Linked DNA regions of Homo sapiens: region 2 is linked to region 1. The links are contacts of gene promoters, found by promoter capture Hi-C in blood cells and fetal thymus (Javierre and others, 2016). All regions are on one chromosome and are shown on one strand. Each heading gives the region's core, a stretch centred on a gene start or on the middle of the fragment in contact. The rest is flanking DNA. Distances are from core to core; before and after follow the strand shown. Region 1 holds the start of B4GALT6 (beta-1,4-galactosyltransferase 6). Region 2 has its middle 13 kb from the start of DSG2-AS1.

Region 1 (2,705 bases), core at 62-2,561:
GCACATAGGTCCGCGCCACATCCTGACACTGTTTCCACAGGAAGTGCGGGATAGGAGGGGGGATTCATTAATCCAGGTCGGAAATACACCTTGTTCCTCGAGGATTTTGGAAGGAAATTCCACCCGCGAAGTCCCCTTTTGGAGATGCCCTTTTCCTTTCAGGTACAGCATCCTTCATTATGTACCCCCAGGGTACAATGTATCCGGGGCTCGCAACGCGTCCCTCAACCCCCAGCAGCGCGGTCACCGCGGGGTCCCCGGGCGGGCGGGGGCGGCGGTGACGCAGGAGGCGGTGGGGCCCCGGTGCGGCGGGCGCGGGGAGGGGGCTGCTGGGCGCGGGCCTATCAGGACGCGCGGTGTTTCGGGCGCGGGGAGGGCGGGGACCTCCAGGTTTCCTCGGGGCCCGGCGCAGCGCCGCCTGCCGAGTTCCGAGCGAGCGCGCGAAGCGCGCAGGGGTCTCGAGACGTTCCCGCCGGTCCCGGTTTTCCTCCGCGGCTCCCCCGCCCCTTCACGTCCGCCTCTTTCTCCAACCAGACGCGGCTCCGACGGCGCTCGGCCTCTGCTCTTCCGGCTCCCCGGCTCTGCCCGCAGCGCGCGTCGCCCGGTTGCTCTTCGCCTGGTGTCCGCGGGCCCGGCGGGGGCGCCTCACCCCGGGCGCGCGGCGGTAATGCCGCTGCCGCCCTTGCGGCCAGGCAGGCAGCTGGCGGCGGCCGGAGTCGGAGCGCGTTCGTCGCTGGCCGGGACGCCGCCCTGGCCTGTGCTCAGCTCCCGCGGCGGCCGCGGGGCGCCGGGGCCCGGCGCGGCATGAGGAGGCGGCTCGGTGCAGGCGAGCGCCCAGCTCCTCGGCCCCGAGGGCCCCCGCGGGCCCCCGCGCGTGGCGCGCGCTGGTTGCGGCCCCGGCGCCCACGCTAGCCCCGCGCAGGCAGGAGACGCCGCGGCCCGGAGTAGGAGGCGGCGCAGGGCCTGCCGAGCGGACGCGGGCGGCCCGGACCTTAAGCACGGGGCTTCGCGGCGGGACCCCGCCGGGCGCGGGCAGCGGAGCCGGGCGTGCTGCAGTTAGCTGCCCCTCTCCGCAGGGGCGCCGCGGCGCGCAGCCTGCGCCTCCTCCCACCTGCAGCCCCTCCTCCCGCCGCTGCTTGGCGGAGAAAACGCTCCTCCTCGCCCTTCCCCGGCTTTCTTCCGTCCTGCCGTCCCCGGGCCCCTAGCCCCCAGTCCCCTCTCCCCCCTCCACCTCTTGTCCCTCGGCCTCCGCGCCTCCCCTCCCCCGACTCTCTGGCCTCCCATTCATTCCGTCCGCTCCCTCCCATTTCCTCTTTTCCGCTCGGGCCCTCTCCCCAGAGCCTCCCCGCGCGGACCCCGCTGCAGTCTCGGGGTTCTCAGCACATTTATGGAAGTTTAGGGCCTGGACAGTGGCCCCGAGTCCGGCCTGAGAGCGCAGCCTGGGCTGCTGGCAGGGAAGAGGAAGATGTCTGTGCTCAGGCGGATGATGCGGGTTTCCAATCGCTCTCTCCTCGCCTTCATCTTCTTCTTCTCCCTCTCTTCGTCCTGTCTGTACTTCATCTATGTGGCCCCAGGCATCGGTAAGCACCGAGACACACCCTCGCTTCCCCTGGTCACACCACAGCCAGCGCAGGCTGTTATCCGATGTTACTTCTGGGATTTGGAAGCTGTTCAAACAGGGGCCCGCAGAAAAGCGTTTTGTTTTAAATGTTATTTCAGACGTGTCAAACTGCTTCAGGGCATGGCTTTGGTATGTGAGTTTTGTTAATGCATGCATTTTGTTAATGCATGTTTGTTAATAACGTAAAAGATTGCATTAAATAGACGTAGCAAAATTAGTGTGATGGCCCGGGATGCCCTAGTCGCTTTCTTGAGTGTTCATGACAGCTTTATCCATTTAATGTTAAGTCTTTAAGCCTAAACTGAGTGCTTAATCGTAGTTTTATTCAAACACTCTCGGGTATAATAACTGGTTGTAAAAATATGGAGGAGCCAGCAGCAGGGAATGTGATTGAGTCCAACAATGTGTGTTTTCTAGGGTCCTAGGTCGCTTTTTTAGAATGGGGTCAGTGGACCCCATTCTTTTTGTGCCATACTTGGGGAATTTTAAGGCGATGAGTTGTCTTGTAAAAACAATGCTCCATTATTTTAGTCTGCTTGGGTGTTATTTTCAAGGGTACGTTGCCTTTGCTACCTGTTAGGATGACTTCTGAGAAAATAGTGATTAAAATAACCGTTATCTAAGGGAACTTGTAGTTTAAAATGTTAACCGGTTTATCATTTTTTGGCCTTTGGTGCAAAATACACTTTTGTAAAACTGCTTGAATTAACTTCTTTATTAAATATCCGAATTCCTCGTCCCCCATTTGTTGAAAAGGAGCCAATGCGGCGTTAATTCTAGTGAATGAGAATTATGAACTTCACATGCATATTAAAATATGTCATATTTCCAAAACTTTTCTGAGTTTTTCCTGGCTATTACGTATTTAATGTTCAATTACTTAGTAACAGTGAGCATCTCCTCTCATTTCTCCTTACACACTGTGGTCGTTTGAGCCAGTGCTCTTTGTTCCGAGTTAGCTAAAAATGTAATGCCCCTTACAGAGTGAAAACACCTGCAGAATTTTCAGATGGAATGATCAGGGCATTGTCTTGAGTGTAGTAGATTATTGCAGTGAATTGCAGCAGGGAAGGAAGATGGAAAC
Region 2 (2,705 bases), core at 92-2,591, 110 kb after region 1:
GTTCTTTGTCTCCTATATACTATTTATCCCCTTTATCCTTGTATCTCCTCAAATCTTCCACCTGACAGCTTCCCCAATGATAAACTTCTTGCATCGGTGCGGTGCATTTGTTGTAACTGATAGCCAATATTGATGCATTATTCTCAACTGAAGTCCATAGTTTACATTAGGATCCACTTTGTGTTGAATGAGGTTTTGACAATTGTATGATAACACATATCCGCCATCACCGTATCATATGGAATAGTTTCACTGCCCTAAAATCCCCCTGTATTCCGCCTAGTTATCCCCCTCTCTTTCCCTACCTCCCCTGCAACCCCTGGCAACCACTGGTCTTTTGACTGTCTCCATGGTTTTGCATTTTCCAGAATGTCAGATAGTTGGAATCATATAGTATGTAGCCTTTTCAGATTGGCTTCTTTCACTTAGTAATACGCATTTAAAATTTCTTCATGTCTTTTCATGGCCTGATACCTCATTTCTTTTTATCGTTGAATCGTATTTTGTTGTGTGGATGCACTACAATTTGTTTATCCACTCACCTATTGAAGGGCAACTTGATTGCTTCCAAGTTTTGGCATCAACTATGCCAAATTATAAATAAATAAAGCTACTATAAATACTTATGTCCAGGTTTTTGTGTGCAGGTTTTGATTGGCAGCTGGAATGACTGACCTAGCTTTAAGAATGATCTTAGCTTCTCCAATTATATGTGTTTATTTTAGCATGGTTTGCATCATCTACTACATACAGAGATTTCTCATTTCTCTGAGCTAATGCTTCCTCGTTTAAAGAGAAACAATCATTGTCATATAACTGCAGGCATGGTGGCTTATGCTTGTAATCCCGGCACTTTGGGAGGCCAAGGCAGGAGGATCGCTTAAGGCTAGGAGTTCAAGACCAGCCTGGGCAGTGTAGTGAGACCTCATCTCTACCAAAAAATAATTAGCTGGGCATAGTGGCATATCCCATAGTCCCAGCTACTTAGGAGGCTGAGGCAGGAGGATTGCTTGAGCTCAGGAGTGTGAGTCTGCAGTGAGCTGTGATCAAGCCACTGCACCCCACCCTGGGTGGCTGAGTGAGACTCCTTCTCAATTAAAAAGAAAATTTAAATGAAAGTCATATAACTTGCAGAATTCTGGAGTTCGGGAACCTCTCAAGGCCCAAGTCCACACAATGTCCTTCAGCTTCCAGGCTTGATTAGACTTAGGGGACTCTATCACTCTCACAGCAATTAGCAACCATGGAGCTTTAACCCAGAGAAAGATCTCACATGGGGGTTTCTGGAACATGGCAGGCCATTCATAGCACTTGGCCATAGGCTAGCTCCCTAGTGACTTTCAATCCCACTGTTCCTTCTCCTAAAACTGGCTCAAGCAAGGAGAGCTTCTCACCAGCTAATGCACCCCAGAGCACTGCTCAGGTTTAGGTGAACAACTGTGAGAACTATTAGGGAGGAGTTTTTACTGGTGGGGGACCTAATCCACATGTAGACCAAGAGGGAAATGCCTGAATCTTGTTTGTCCCTCCCTATTTAGGCAATAGGGCTGTGGAATCAGTTTCCTGATCATTCTGCTGACTTAGCCCTGCCCTTTACTTTTACTTGAGGGCTGAGATGGTAAGATTATCATTTTCTTTTCTTTTCTTCTTTTTTTTTTTGCACTCCTAGGCGTGATCTTGGCTCACTGCAACCTCTGCCTCCCGGGTTCAAGCGATTCTCCTGCCTCAGCCTCCTGAGTAGCTGGGATTACAGGTGCCCACCACCACACCCAGCTAATTTTTTGTATTTTTAGTAGAGTCAGGGTTTTGCCATGTTGGGCAGGCTGGTCTTGAACTCCTGACCTCAGGTGATCCACCAGCCTTGGCCTCCCAAAGAGTTGGGATTGTGGGCATGAACCACTGCACCCGGCCATTCTCATTTTCTATCTGCTCCTATTTTTACACAGCCATTTCTTCTCTTCTAACTTTTAATTGCCTCAATAAAAAAGGATCTTGCAGGCCAGGCATGGTGGCTCACGCCTGTAATCCCAATACTTTGGGAGACCGAGGTGGGCAGATTGTTTGAGGTCAGGAGTTCGAGACCAGCCTGGCCAACGTGGTGAAACCCCGTTTCTACTAAAAATACAAAAAATTAACCGGGCATGGTGGTATGTGCCTGTAATCCCAGCTACCCAGGAGGCTGAGGCAGGAGAATCACTGGAACCTGGGAGGCAGAGGTTGCAGTGGGCTGAGATGGCACCACTGCACTCTAGCTTGGATGACTGAGTGAGATTCCGCTCAAAAAAAAAAAAAATAAAAATAAAAATAAAAAAGAATCTTGCTAGAAATAACTCCCCTGGATGGAGGTATTAGTAAACAAAATTAGCGAATACATGTTGTTCCAAGCTATTAGGTTTTTCTGTTTCTTATTATTTTTCATTCTTTTCAATAATTTTAGTTAACTTTCAATGAAAATAAAAATATGGTCCCGAGGTCAATTGGGATTGATTTTCTTGGTTGATTGAATTAAAATGCCCCTTTCTTGAGTTGCTAGTATCAGAAATAAAGGAGCCGAGGTGAGCAAAGGCAAAAATAAAATGAAGCAGACGCCTTTTTCCAAGTGTATAGATAAAAGAGCCCCAGCGACACACACATTCTAACAAGCTATGTGTGAAAATGCACGTATATATGTGTCTACATTTATAAACCTGGATGTCTAGGTGTCC

What was found. The method cuts DNA at HindIII sites, captures the fragments that hold promoters and counts their contacts. A CHiCAGO score of 5 or more calls a contact.
Region 2: a fragment that was not itself captured here is called in contact with the fragment with the promoter of B4GALT6 in region 1 in 2 of 17 cell types (M0 macrophages and M1 macrophages); the score reaches 7.8 in M0 macrophages.

Annotation. Positions count from the first base shown.
Region 1 is chr18:31,683,187-31,685,891 of GRCh38, reverse strand. It overlaps B4GALT6 (beta-1,4-galactosyltransferase 6), which reads left to right and starts at 1,311. Exons shown (of 9, transcript NM_004775.5): 1 at 1,311-1,580. The coding sequence starts at 1,466. RefSeq lists a silencer at 175-1,214. The HindIII fragment of the contact is 10,803 bases long and covers 1-2,705 here.
Region 2 is chr18:31,568,769-31,571,473 of GRCh38, reverse strand. No RefSeq gene overlaps it. Among named protein-coding and RNA genes, the nearest start is that of DSG2-AS1, 13 kb to the right of the region's middle. The HindIII fragment of the contact is 5,620 bases long and covers 1-2,705 here.